Linked DNA regions of Homo sapiens: region 1 is linked to region 2. Evidence: promoter capture Hi-C in 16 types of primary human blood cells and fetal thymus (Javierre and others, 2016). All regions are on one chromosome and are shown on one strand. Each heading gives the region's core, a stretch centred on a gene start or on the middle of the fragment in contact. The rest is flanking DNA. Distances are from core to core; before and after follow the strand shown. Region 1 has its middle 14 kb from the start of PDCL. Region 2 holds the start of STRBP (spermatid perinuclear RNA binding protein).

What was found. The method cuts DNA at HindIII sites, captures the fragments that hold promoters and counts their contacts. A CHiCAGO score of 5 or more calls a contact.
Region 1: a fragment that was not itself captured here is called in contact with the fragment with the promoter of STRBP in region 2 in 1 of 17 cell types (naive CD4 T cells); the score reaches 5.0 in naive CD4 T cells.

What each region holds. Positions count from the first base shown.
Region 1 is chr9:122,810,920-122,817,831 of GRCh38, reverse strand. No RefSeq gene overlaps it. Among named protein-coding and RNA genes, the nearest start is that of PDCL, 14 kb to the left of the region's middle. The HindIII fragment of the contact is 404 bases long and covers 1,057-1,460 here.
Region 2 is chr9:123,266,391-123,273,793 of GRCh38, reverse strand. It overlaps STRBP (spermatid perinuclear RNA binding protein), which reads left to right and starts at 5,208. Exons shown (of 19, transcript NM_018387.5): 1 at 5,208-5,358. RefSeq lists silencers at 4,783-5,262, 5,433-5,482 and an enhancer at 4,882-5,382. The HindIII fragment of the contact is 5,570 bases long and covers 3,937-7,403 here.

The DNA of each region.
Region 1 (6,912 bases), core at 9-2,508, 450 kb after region 2:
CATCTTCTGTTCTCATTGAAAATGAGAATATATTATGCACTTACAGGGAACTTGACTTTGCTTTTCAAGAACAGAAGTTCTAAAATACAGTAGGGCTGGGTGTGGTGGTTCATGCCTGTAATTCCAGCACTTTGGGAGGCTGAGGCAGACATAGTGAGGCCTCATCTCTACAAAAAATAGAAAAAATTAGCTGGGCACGGTGTTGTACCTCTAGTCCCAGCTACTTGGGAGGCTTAGTCAGGAGGATCTCTTGAGCCTGGGAGGTCAAGGCTGCAGTGAACCATGATTGCACTCCAACCTGGGCGACAGAGACCCTGTCTCAAAAAAAAAAAAAAAAAAAAAAATTAAAAAAAAGAGTAGACATGTAATGGTAATGGAGAAATCCTAGACTTTTTTTTTTGGAGATGGTGTCTCACTCTGTTGCCCAGGCTGGAGTACAGTGGCACAATCTCAGGTTACTGCAACCTCCGCCTCCTGGATTCAAACGATTCTCCTGCCTCAGCCTCCTGAGTAGCTGGGATTACAGGTGCCTGCCACCATGCCTGGCTAATTTTTGTATTTTTAGTAGAGATGGGGTTTCACCATGTTAGCCAGGCTGGTCTCGAACTCCTGACCTCAGGTGATCACCTGCCTCGGCCTCCCAAAGTGCTGGGATTACAGGCATGAGCCATCGCATCGGGCCGAGAATGTTAGATCTCTTAACTTTGGTGTCGTGGAAGCAGCATGGGCTTTAGAGTCAGGCAGATCTGGGTTCAAATCCTGTCTGGCAGTCTAGTGGTGTAGCTTCTTTCTGGTAAGAAACCTACCTTTCCTGATGCTCAGTTTCCTCATCTGTAAAATGGGAACAAAAATAACCTGTTTTGTGGAGTTGTTCTGTGACGGTGGTTCTCATGTGTGGTAGCTGGGGCAGCACCAGCAGCAGTGGCGGCCTCAGCATCACCTGGGAACTTGTCAGAAATGCAAATTCTCGGGCTTCACCCTAGACCTCCTGAATCAGGAATTCTGGGAATGACTAGGCAAACTATTTTCATGAGCCCTGTAGGTGATTCTGAAGCTTGTTCAAGTTTGAGAGTCACTGACCTATGGATTAAGGTGAGTGAGTGCACCTGTGACAGAACAAGTGCTCACTGCTCTTGGTTTCCTTATTAAAAGAGGGAGGGAGTTGAAATGGGGTAGCTCTCAGATTGCCTCTCTCCTGTTTTATTTTGTGATTCTCCCTTTTAGCCATGGAATTGGGGGAAGGAAAGAGGAACCATTTGTCTATCACAAACTGTCCCAGAGTCTTCCAGATTTCACGTTTGGAATGAAAGTCTCAGGAAGGCACGGACTTTGTTTTCTTCCTCATGTATGGCATAGAGCAGCGGTCCCCAACCCCTGGGCCACAGATCAGTATCGTTCTGTGGCCTGTTAGGAACCAGGCTGCACAGCAGGAAGTGAGCGGCGGGCCAGCAAGCTAAGCTTCATCTGTTTTTACAGCCGCTTCCCATTGCTTCCGTTACTGCCTGAGCCCCACCTCCTGTTAGATCAGCGGTGGCATTAGATTCTCATAGGAGTGCGAACCCTATTGTGAACTGCCCACGCGAGGGATGTAGGTTGTCCGCTGCTTATGAGAATCCAGCACCTGCCGATCTGTCACTGTTCCCCGTCACCCTCAGATGGGACCGTCTAGTTGTAGGAAAACAAGCTCAGGGCTCCCACTGATTCTACATTTTGGTGAGTTGTATAATTGTTATGTATTGCAATGTAATAATAATAGAAATAAAGTGTACGATAAATGCAATGCGCTTGAATCATCCTGAAACTCCCCCCACCCAACCCCAGTCTGTGGAAAAATTGTTTTCCAGGAAACCGTTCCCTGGTGCCAAAAAGGTTGGGGACCACTGGCATAGAGTAAGGGCTTGGTCTCTAGGCACAGCCTGATACTACCTTTGGAAGCAAGATGCTGAATCCCTCCATGCCTCAGTTTCCTCATCTGTGAAATGCTGATAGTAACATGAGTCAATTAATATAAAGTACCTGGAACACACAGAAGTGTTTTTATTGGTCTAGTGCCCACACTGTGCTTGGCACTTGGCAAAAGATGAATAAACATTTAAGAATGAACACATTGACTCATTGAATGGCACATCTTTTCAAAGTAGGAAGTAGTAACTGTTCAAAGGTGTAGAAACCAAGACTTAGCAGAGTTAAGTGACATTTCAACTTATACAGCTAGTGGGCAGGGCAGGATTAAAATCAGGTTTGTGAAGTTCCAACATTTGTACTATTTTCCTGATGTCATATTCTTGATGGAGAAAGCAAACTGATCAAGTGACAATAAAATAGAAACATTGAAAGACAGTGGAGAGAATAGAGGAAGGAAATAAAGAAGATAATTTATTTTTACTCATTTATTTATTTCATTATTTTTATTTATTTTTTTGAGTCAGAGCCTAGCTCTGTCGCCCAGGCAGGAGTGCAGTGGCGTGATCTCAACTCACTGCAACCTCTGCCTCCCGGGTTCAAGCGATTCTCCTGCCTCAGCCTCCTGAGTAGCTGGGACTACGGGTACGTGCCACCATACCAGGCTAATTTTTTTATTTTTAGTAGAGACAGGTTTTTACCATGTTGGCCAGGATGGTCTCGAACTCCCGACCTCAGGTGATCTGGCTGCCTCGGCCTCCCAAAGTGTTGGGATTGCAGGTGTGAGCCACCGCGACCGGCCAAGAAGAGAATTCAAAGAGCGAAAAGGAGTTGAGCTGATGGAGCCTTGGGTCTCTCAATTCTGCCTGTGTTTCAGGCCAGAATCTCCTCCTGTCTCAGCTGTGGCAGTGACCCACAATGTGCCCCTGTTGAGGGGCATCTCCTTCCTACCATGACTCAAGAGAGTCCTCCCTCCCAAAATCCATCTCTTAGGCTCCTTCCTCCACACACTGCCACCCGTGTCCCACTACAAGTGACAGCAATAGGGAGAATAGTTAATGTGGACTCTGGCTCTTTCAGTAACTAGTTAAGTGCCCTCAGATACATCTCTTCCTCTCCTGGGCCTCATTTCCCCATTTGTAAAGTGAGGAGTTGAACTAGATGATCTTTTTTTTTTTTTCCTCCCCCTCGGGACAGGGTCTTGCTCTGTTACCCAGGCTGGAGTGTAGTGGCGCAATCACAGCTCATTGTAATCTTGAACCGTTGGGCTCAAGGGATCCTCTTGCCTCCGTCTGCCGAGTAGCTGGGACTACAGGTGCATGCCACTGTGCCTGGCTAATTTTTTATTTTTTGTAGAGTGGAGTGTCTCACTTTGTTGCCCAAGCTGGTCTCAAACTCCTGGGCTCAAGCGATCCTCCTGCCTCAGCCTCCCAAAGTTCTGGGATTACAGGTGTGAGCCACGCATCTGGCTAGATGATTTCGTCAGATGCTTCAGACTCTCACATTGTATTAGTTAATTATTAATCTTTTATTTGGAAAACGTTGAAACCTATAGGAAACTGAAAAGAATATTACCATTAACATCTGTATATCTTTCACGTGGCTTCATCAAAAGTTGATATTTTGCTGCATTTGTTTATCTCTGTTTTCTGTGGAACTTTTTTTTTTTTTTTGAGACGGAGTCTCACCGTCACCCAGGCTGGAGTGCAGTGGCGCGATCTCGACTCACTGCAAGCTCCACCTTCTGGGTTCACGCCATTCTCCTGCCTCAGCCTCCCAAGTAGCTGGGACTACAGGCACCCACCACCACACCCGGCTAATTTTTTGTATTTTTAGTAGAGACAGGGTTTCACCGTGTTAGCCAGGATGGTCTTGATCTCCTGACCTCGTTATCCGCCCGCCTCAGCCTCCCAAAGTGCTGGGATTACAGGCGTGAGCCACTGCGCCTGGCGGAACTATTGAGATGTAAGTTTGCAGACATCTTGACTTTGCTCCTAAATACTTCACTGACTCTCCTAAGAAAAGGGTCTTGATCCTGTATAACCAAAATACCATTGTTACACTCAAGAGAATAAACAGTAATTCAACAATATCTAAAACACAGTTCATATCAATTTTCTCTATTTGTTCCCAAAATTTCTTTAATATTCTTTGAAAAAAATTCAGGACGCAATCAAGTTCACACATTTCATTTTTGTGACTTTAGTCTCTTAAGCTAGTATAGTCCCCTTGCCTTTGTTCTTGTTTCTCATATCAGTGATTTGTTTTTGAGGCAGGGTCTGGCTCTGTTGCCCAGGCTGAAGTGCAGTGGTGTGAGCTTGGCTCACTGTAATTTCCACCTCCTTGGCTCAAGCCATCCTCCCACCTCAGTCAACTGAGTAGCTGGGACTACAGGTGTGGAACACTGTGCCCAGCTAATTTTTGTATTTTTTGTAGAGACGGGGCCTCACTATGTTGCCCAGGCTGGTCTCAAACTCCTGAGCTCAAGCCATCCACCTGCCTCAGCCTCCTAAAGTACAGGGATTACAGGGTGAGCCACCATGCCTGGCTCATATCAGTCTTTTTTTTTTTTTTTTTCCTGTGGAGATGGAGTCTTGCTCTGTTGCCCATGCCCAGGCTGGCAGTGCAGTGGCATGATCTCGGCTCATTGTAACCTCTGCCTCCCAGGTTCAAGCGATTCCCCTGCCTCAGCCTTCTGAGTAGTTGGGATTACAGGTGTGCACCACCACATGTGGCTAATTTTTGTATTTTTTTTTTTTAGTAGAGGTGGGGTTTCATTATGTTGGCCAGGCTGGCTTCGAACTCCTGACCTCAAGTGATCTGCCGGCCTAGGCCTCCCACAGTGCTGGGGTTACAGGCGTGAGCCATCACACCCAGCCTTATCAGTGACTTTTAACCATTTATTCATTTAGGTGACTGGGGATGGGTCTAAGCCTGGGCATAAGGAAGGGCTAGACCGGCAGCTGGGTCCATCATGCCCAGCCACCTGGCAGCCTGGCCACCCTTCTGCTGAGGCTTTTTAAAGAATCCAGGCCAACTGTCATAAAAAATGCTCCAATTTCTGGCTTCTCAGATTGTTTCCTTATTTCTGGCAATAATACAATCACCAGAGGTGATGTTGTGTAGTTCTTACTACATAAGTCAGGGAGTATCTGATGTCAGCTTGATGATGCTAAGTTTAATCACTTGGTTAAGGTGGTGAATGACAAATCTTCATATAGTAAAATTATTTCCCCTTTGTTAGCAGAAAGAAATCTGTGTTGTGATACTTTGAGACTGTGTGAATATCCTCTTCTTACAATAACGTTTCACCTAATAGTCTTGGCATCCTTGCCTGAACCAAATTATTACATTGGGGGTATGCGTAAAGGTGATTTTCTTTATTTTAATTTCATTTCATTTTTAAGAGACAGCGTTTCACTTTGTTGCCCAGGCTGGAGTGCAGTGGCGCAATCACAGCTCACTGCAACCTCAAGCTCCTGGGCTCAAGCGATCCTCCTGCCTCAGCCTCCCAAAGTGCTGGGATTACAGGCGTAAGCCACTGTGTTTGACCTAGCGTTTGCTTTTTTTTTTTTTTCCAATACATCCTTTTTGGTTCCACCTTTTTGAGCATATAAAACATTTACCCAGTTTAAAAGCCAACAGAATATGAAGTTGTGTTCTCAGAGAAGCCTCACTCCCATTGATTCCCTCCACTCCAAGAATTTATTTTGGATTGTGAATGCTTGTGGTTAAATTTCTTGGTGTCTCTGAGCTGTGATCTCCCAAGTGAGGATAATCATAGCAACTATCTCACAGGGTGGCTGGAAGTGTTCAATGAGCTAAAGTTCTTAGCATGGTGAGGCACCTAGCAAACATTCCTTAGATCCATAGAGGTCATCAGTTTTTTGTTTTTTTTTTTTTAAACTATCCATCCTCTACAAAACCCTGATCCCACTTATTAAAAAAGGGCTTTAAGATCCCAATTCCGGCCGGGCGCGGTGGCTCATGCCTGTAATCTCAGCACCTTGGGAGGCCAAGGCGGGCGGATCACGAGGTCAGGAGATCGAGACCATCGTGGCTAACACGGTGAAACCCCGTCTCTACGAAAAATACGAAAACAAAAAATTAGCCGGGCGTAGTAGCGGGCGCCTGTAGTCTCAGCTACTTGGGAGGCTGAGGCAGGAGAGTGGCGTGAACCCGGGAGGCGGAGCTTGCAGTGAGCCGAGATCGCACCACTGCACTCCAGCCTGGGCGACAGAGCGAGACTCCGTCTCAAAAAACAAACAAACAACCCCCCCCCCAAAAAAAAACCAATTTCCCCTTGTCAACTCAAATAAATCCTATTTATCCTTGAAAATTCAGCTCAAACCTCACATCCTCTCTGGATCCTAAGTCTTTGCTGTCTCTTCAGAGAGAGGCAGTCATACTGTGACATGTCTTCCTACAGGTGATGGCAACACTGGTTAAGAAAATGGGGGCTCAAAACCTGGGTCCATCCAACACTAGCCTTGCCTCCATTTTCCCACCTGTACAAGGGGGATAACAGTAGTTGGGATAAGAGGTCAATGGGGCCGGGCACGGTGGCTCATGTCTGTAATCCCAGCACTTTGGGAGGCTGAGGCGGGCGGATCACCTGAGGTCAGGAGTTCCAGATCAGCTTGACCAAAATGGTGAAACCCCCTCTTTACTGAATACAAAAAATTAGCTGATCATGGTGGCGCACGCCTGTAATCCCAGCTACTTGGGGGGCTGAGGCAAGAGAATCGCTTGAACCTGGGAGGCAGAGGTTGCAGTGAGCTGAGATTGCACCACTGCACTCCAGCCTGGGCAACAGAGTGAGATTCCATCTCAGAAAAAAGGAGGTCAATGGGTTAATACTCAGAACGCACTTTGCACCTTGCTTAACACATAGAAATGTCTCAATAAATTATCTATTGTTGTCATCATGCTATTATTTTAATTCAACTTAAAGAAATATTTAAAGTTTTTCCGAAGTGTGAGATGGGAAATCCTGGTGACTTGAATAGC
Region 2 (7,403 bases), core at 3,959-6,458:
ATACATAGGAAAAGTTTGGGTTATTATTACTGGTTGAGATTAGGTGACACTTTTATTCCTTTTTTTCTTTTCTTTTTCTTTTTCCTTTTTTTTTTTTTTTTTTTTTTTGAGACAGAGTTTTCCTCTTGTCACCCAGGCTGGAGTGCAATGGCGTGAACTTGGCTCACTGCAACCTCCGCCTCCTGGGTTCAAGCAATTCTCTTGCCTCAGCCTCCCAAGTATCTGGGATTACAGGTGCCTGCCAACACACCTGGCTAATTTTTTGTATTTTTAGTAGAGACAGGGTTTCACCATGTTGGCCAGGCTGGTCTCGAACTCCTGACCTCAGGTGATCCACCCACCTCAGCCTCCCAAAGTGCTGGGATTACAGGCATGAGCCACAGCACCTGGCCTTTATTCTTTTTTCCTAAAAGGTCTATTTGATTTTTGTTCTTTCTTTCTTTTTTTTTTTTTTTCAAGAGGTTCTGTCACCCAGGCTGGAGTGCAGTGGTGTGATCTTGGCTCCCTGAAAACTCTGTCTCCCAGGTTCAAGTGATTCTCCCACCTCAGCCTCCCAAGTAGTTGGAACTACAGGCATGTGCCACCACACCTGGCTAATTTGTCTATTTTTTGGTAGGGACAAGGTTTCACCATGTTCGCCAGGCTGGTTTCAAATTTCTGGCCTCAAGAGATCCATCCGTCTCGGCATCCAAAAGTGCTGAGATTACAGGTGTGAGCCACTGTGCCAGGCCGAAAAGGTCTACTTTATTTATTTATTTATTTATTTATTTGTTTGTTTGTTTGAGACGGAGTCTTGCTGTGTCTCCCAGGCTGGAGTGCAGTGGCACCATCTTGGCTGACTGTAACCTCCGCCTCCTGGGTTCAAGTGATTCTCCTGCCTCAGCCTCCTGAGTAGCTGGGACTACAGGCACGTGCCACTGCACCCGGCTAATTTTTGTATTTTTAGTAGAGATGGGGTTTCACCATGTTAGCCAGACTGGTCCCTAACTCCTGACCTCAGGCGATCCGCTCACCTCGGCCTCCCAAAGTGCTGGTATTACAGGCATGAGCCCCCGGCACCCAACCAGTCTGTTTGATTTTTTTACAAAAATGTATCAGGCCCTGTGCAGAGGCTCACACCTGTAGTTGCAGCACTTTAGGAGGCTGAGGAGGGAGTATCCCTTGAGCCCAGAGTTTGAGACCAGCCTGGGCAACATGATGAAACCCAGTCTCTACTAAAAAAAATACAAAAAGTTAACCTGGCACAATGGCATGCCTGTAGTCCCAGCTGCTCAGGAGGCTGAGGTGGGAGGATCGCTTGAACCTGGGAGACAGAGGTTTCAGTGAGCCGAGATTGCGCCACTGCACTCCAGCCTGGGTGACAGAACAAAACTCTGTCTAAAAAAAAAGAAGTATCAGATATACCAGAAAAAACAAAAAATAGAGACAGAAAGTAGACTGGTGTTTGCTTGTGGCCAGGGTTGGAAATGGGATTAACACTTAATGAGCATGAGAGTCTTACGGGGGATCCATAAGGTATGCTAAATGTTCTTTTTTTTTTAGACAGAGTTTTCCTCTGTCACCAGGCTGGAGTGCAGTGCCATGATCTTGGCTCACTGTAACCTCTGCCTCCTGGGTTCAAGCCATTCTCCTGGCTCAGCCTCCTGAGTAGCTGGGATTACAGGTGTCCACCACCATGCCCAGCTAATTTTTGTATTTTTAGTAGAGACGGGGTTTCACCATGGTGGTCAGGATGGTCTCGATCTCCTGACCTCGTGATCTGCCCACCTTGGCCTCCCAAAGTGCTGAGCCACCGTGCCCGGCAAGGTATGCTAAATGTTCTGAAACTGACTTATGTTAATGTTGCACCACTTAGTGAAGTTACTGAAAATCATTGGATTGTACATTTTTGAAATGCATAATTTTATGTGTAAACTATACCTCAAGTAAATTGTTAAAAATCTATGTGTGATTACACGCCTGTAATCACAGCACTTTGGGAGGCCAAGGCGGGAGAATCACTTGAGACCAGGAGTTCGAGACCAGCCTGGCCCATCTCTACTAAAAATACAAAAAAAATTAGACGGGTGTGGAGGCACACGCCTGTAATCCCAGCTACTTGGGAGGCTGAGGCAGGAGAATGGCTTGAACCTGGGAGACTGAGGTTGCAGTGAGGCGAGATTGTGCCACTGCACTCCAGACTGGGTGACAGAGTGAGACTCTGTCTCAAAACAAAACAGGCTGGGCACGGTGGTTCACGCCTGTAATCTCAACACTTTGGGAGGCCGAGGCGGGCAGATCATTTGAAGTCAGGAGTTCAAGACTAGCCTGACCAACATGGTGAAACCTCATCTCTACTAAAATACAAAAATTAGCCAGGCATGGTGGCAGGCGCCTGTAATCTCAGCTACTCAGGAAGCTGAGGCAAGAGTATCACTTGAACCCAGGAGGCAGAGGTTACAGTGAGCCAAGATTGCGCCACTGCACTACAGCCTGGGCGACAGAGCAAGACCCCTCTCAAAAACAAAGCAAAACAAAAATCTGCATATGTATCCTTAAAAAATTAAAACAATGCAGAAATTTTTAAGTCCTCCATCCCCACACCCAGTTCTATCTTCCAGGCATAACCAATAGTGGTTGGTGTTTAATCCTTTCTGACGTTTTTCTATGGAGAATCCAACATACACATTACAGATAAATAATTTTCTGCAACTTTCTTTTTTCTTTGGACATGTAATGAGGGACATGAAAAATTAACAGTAACTACTCTGGAGTTGGGATTGGGGTAGTGGGAGTGGAGTCAAGGGCAGGAAGGGAGAGAGACATTAACTTTTTTTTTGAGACGGAGTTTCGCTCTTGTTGTCCAGGCTAGAGTGCAATCACGGGATCTCGGCTCATTGCAACCTCTGCCCCCCGGGTTCAAGCGATTCTCCTGCCTCAGCCTCCCGAGTAGCTAGGATTACAGGTACACACCAACACGTCCGGCTAATTTTCGTATTTTTAGTAGAGATGGGGTTTTGCCCCATTGGCCAGGCTGGTCTTGAACTCCTGACCTCAGGTGATCCACACGCCTCGGCCTCCCAAAAGTGCTAGGATTACCAGCGTGAGCCACTGCGTCTGGCCTAACTTTTTACTTTCTTTCCTTTTATATAATTTGCATGCTTTTGTCTCAGTGTTTGGAGTTACAAACCCAATAAAGATATTGAAACAAGAAATACTATTGAATCCTTAATGCCATGCTGTTCTTCTATTTTAAAAAAATTAAAAATGTAACCAAGTGCTGGACACCGTGCTGAGTGCCTTAGATATACGGTTGCAATGAATCCTTCTAACAACCCTACAATATGCAATACTATTAGTCTCACTTGGCAGATGAGTAAACTTAGACTAGAGAGATTGATTTTCCAAGATCACACAGCTAGTGTGCAGTGAATCTGGATCTTTACAGTGTGGCGCCTCTTCTCCCTCTGATACTTATGGGCATCCTACAAAACCCAGCTTTAATGATCTCATGTCATGTGCACGTGTAGTCTTCCCTAACACACTTAGGCAGGAAGATGACCCTGTCCTCAAGGGACTGAGAGACCAGGGAGGAGACAGACAGCTAAACAATTACAATCTAGTGCCATGAGAATACATATAGCTTAACAGGACTATGTTCAAGCCGAGGGAGCTTAGACCATGTGTCTGAGGCAGCCAAGGATCTCCAGAGAATATACTCTGAGCTGATTGATAAGGATACCCAGGATTTTTTTCAGGAGGGTCAAGGAAGGTGTGAGTGGTCAGAGGTGGGGAGAGGGTTTAGAAAGGGATTTGCGGCCTGGCATCTGTCTCAGGAGACTCAGGCTCCTACACACCTGGGCATACTCTGGAAACAACAGTACTGTAGTTCTGTGTGGCTGGAGGGTCACATTGGCCTGAAGGAGGGGCAAAGGGAAGGGCGTGCACCTTGAAGCTTAAGGCCAGATCACCAAGGCCTTTTCAGTTGAAATTGGGTTTTTTACACTTTATTCTGTGAATGAAACAGAGCTGTTAAAATATTTGAGCCTGGTGTGTTAGAAAGATGAAAAGGGGCCCCAAGGGGGCTGTTGTGGGGAGTCCCTCCTCAACCCCTGGGCTGTTCAAGGTCCTCTGTCTTGGCACTGAGTGGTCAGGTCGTTTCTGCTCCAGGCTGGGAATTGTCTTAGGGCAAAGACATTGTCTCATTTGCCAGTGCATCCCTGCAGCCTGCAAACCCCCCGGTATACAGCAGGGACTGTATACTGGCAAGCAGAATGCTGGGCACCAAGAACTTGAGGCCAGGGACTGTAGAATAGAAAGCGAACCTTTAATTCTTCCCCAGCGCCGCCCCTGGCACAGAGCTGGTAGGTGTTCAGCCAAAGTCTGACCCAACCATAAGGAGGTCAGAGAGGTCCTGGGCCCAAACTCAATCCCAGCGAGGTTCATTATAGGCAGGTGAAGGAGAGGTGATTGTAGCAGCTTCTGTTCAGCGACTGCTGTGTGCCAGGATTCACACCTATTGTCTTATGCCATCTCCCCAACAGCTCCTAAATTGGAATTATTGTCCCAGTTTTCCTGATGAGGAAACTGAGGCTCAGAACGGTTCTTGGTAACTTGGCCAAGGTCACACAGCCAGCAAGTAGGTGGGCGGTGGCACAAGTCAAAGCCTACTGGCCTGCCCCTCTACCTCGGGAGGCAGTGCGACGCCTACTCCATTTGTGTGGCTGCTGGGGTTGGGGGGCATCCCGCACTGGGGTGCGGGGCCCGGGGAAGGCGGCTAGCCGCCGCGGCTCGGCGCAGCTCCCAGGTTCGGAAGTTACGAAGTTTCCGTGCATTTCGCTAGCCTCCCAGCGCAGCTCGTCTCCGCTCCGCCGCAGTTACGCCGCTAGCGCAGCGGGGCTCAGGTGCTGCAGCGAGCGGGGGCCTGGGGCCGGGAGGAAGGCGGGGACGCAGTTTACGTAAGCGTCCGCTGGCAGGTGCATAAGGCCGCCGGCGGCGAGTGCTCCCTGCGCGCTCCCAGGTGCGCACTTGGCGCAGGCGGCGGCACAGCAAGGCGGCGGCGGGCGCTGGCCGGCGCTCTCAGGTGCGGCAGGACGCGCGTGGAGGGGGCGCGCGGCGAACGAGGGGGCGGGCTTTCCGTTCCCCAGCAGCCGCGGGGCCCGCCCCCTGGCCTGGCCAATGGGCGCGCTCGACGGTGTCACGTGCTCGCTGCCGCCGCTGCCGCCGCCGAAGCGGAGACCGGAGCCGCGAGCGCCACCAGGGCAGCAGCCGCCGCAGCCGCCGCCGCTGGGCAGAGGAGCCGGAGACGCGAGCGGGCGAGGTGGCGGCGGCGGCGGAGCGGGAGCGGGTACCGGGCGCGGGCAGAGCGCGGCGGCGCGGGTAGGCTCCGGCGGCGGGGCGGGCGCCTGCGCGGCGGGCCGTCCCGGGCGGGCGGCGGTTAAGGCGGCGGTTGAGGCGGTTGGCGGAGCCGGCCCGGGCCCCGCATTGTTTGTTGTGCGTCCTTAGCAGCGGCGGCGGCGGTGGCGGCCGAGGCGGAGAGCAGGGAGCAATCCCGGCCCCGCGGCTCCGGCATTGTGGCCGCCGCCGCCGCCGCTGCGGTGCCCCGGCCGCTTCGGGCAAGGGCAGCGGGCAGCCTTCCTCACCTTCGCGGGGACGGGGTCCCGGCCGATCAGGGGAGGGCGTGGGCAGGGTTGGGGGACGCGGTGCCGGGAGGTCTTCCGGGACGGAGGGCTCGGGGCTCGGGGCAGGTGTTGGAGGACATTGGGGGCAGGAGCTGGGGAGAGGCTTCGGGGGGCAGGCGGAAGGTGTGGGCAGATTTGGGGGTAAATAGGGGTGCAGAGGGATCCGGCCCAATGGAGGAGGAGAGCCTTCAGGCAGGTTTGGGGGGCCCCCTGGGCCAGGCGAGTGCGAGATGGAGGACATTCCGTCCGGTGGGGGGGGGCACTATATTGTGGGGTTCAAGAGGGAATGAGGGGGCTTTTGGGGAGGGCAGGGACGAGTGGGGTGGGAATGGAGGGAGAAGACTGGGGACTCGAGCAGGACTGGAAGGAGCGCTGCGTGCCAGGGGCAGGGAGTGGGGCGGGTATTAGGAAGGCCACCGGGACGCCCGTGAAGGGGAACGATGGAGGAGGGGGTCGGGGCAGGGGGAAGTGAGGGCAGGCAGGGAGCGCCTGAAAGGGAGGGAGGGGAGCAGGGTGCCTAGGCTTCTGGGGTGATAGGGAAATGAAGGGTAGGCCCAGGGGCTCCAGGAGACCTGCGAGGGGTGTGAGGGAGTGTGTGGCCAGGTGTATAGGGGAGCCTGCAGGGAGGCGGGAGGGGGTTGACATGTAAGGATAAAAAGGCAGGTATCTGGTGCTCAGGGAAGAGGAGTATGGGGTGGAAGGGGGAAGTTCATTGGGGCAGAGACTTAGTTTGAGGGCTTGCAGAGAGAGGTGGGGACAGTAGGAGAAGGGTGATGGGGATGGAGAGCAGGAGGTGTGTGGGGCATTTAAAGGATAGCGGGAGAAGTGCGTGAAATGGAGGGTGTTTATGCAGGAAGTATGGAAGAAGGTGGGATCAGCAAGAGAGGGAATTTTGAGGTAGGACGGAGGGTGAGGGGTTCTTGGCAAGTGTTGGAGGACGTTAGGGGCAGGAGCTGGGGGAGAGGGACAGGTGTGGGGTGGCGTGGAGTGTGTGAGGTGGAGGGCAAAAGGGGGTGGGGAAAGGGAAGTGTTCTTGGAGTGGCAGGTAAAGTGTGGGGACAAATGGAAGGAAAGATTTCTGAGGCGGGAAGTGTGGAGCGGTTGGGGAGGAGGAAGGTGGAGGGGAGGGTGAGAACGAAATCAGTAGAGGGGGACAACGGGATAGACTGGAGGGGAAGGTGGACAGGTCTGGAGTACAGTAGGTGGAGGGAGGGAAGCACAGGTTTGGGGCACTGAATTTTGTGCTGTAGGGAGAAGGGAGGTAGGGAGAAAGAAGGAAGGTAGACAGGCTATTTTGGGGTAGAGGATGTAGAAGAATGCTTAATACCTATAGTGGAGTAAGGGAAGGGCAAGGCAGAGGTGTATGTGGACATGTCTGTAACTAGAAAGGCATAGGTGATGGATTGGAGTGGTGGTGGTGGTGGTGGGGGAAATAGGATGCCCAGGTTTAGGGCAGGAAATGACTGCTTAAGTTGGAGAGAGCTAGGAACACAGGTTGCTTAAGAGAGTATGGAAGATCCAAGGAGTGGAAGTATGGGGAGAGATTGGAACACTTTGAGTTTGAGAGATGAAAGGGGCCAAGATTTTTAGGTCACTGAGAGTCTAAGGAAGATCAGGCAGAGTGCAGAAGTTGGAAAAATAACTAAATGGAGAGGATTAAATTCCATACTGAGAGAAACTGGAGATTGAGGGGTGGGGGGACCTGGATCCTGGAATGATGTTAATGGAAAGTGGAGGACATTA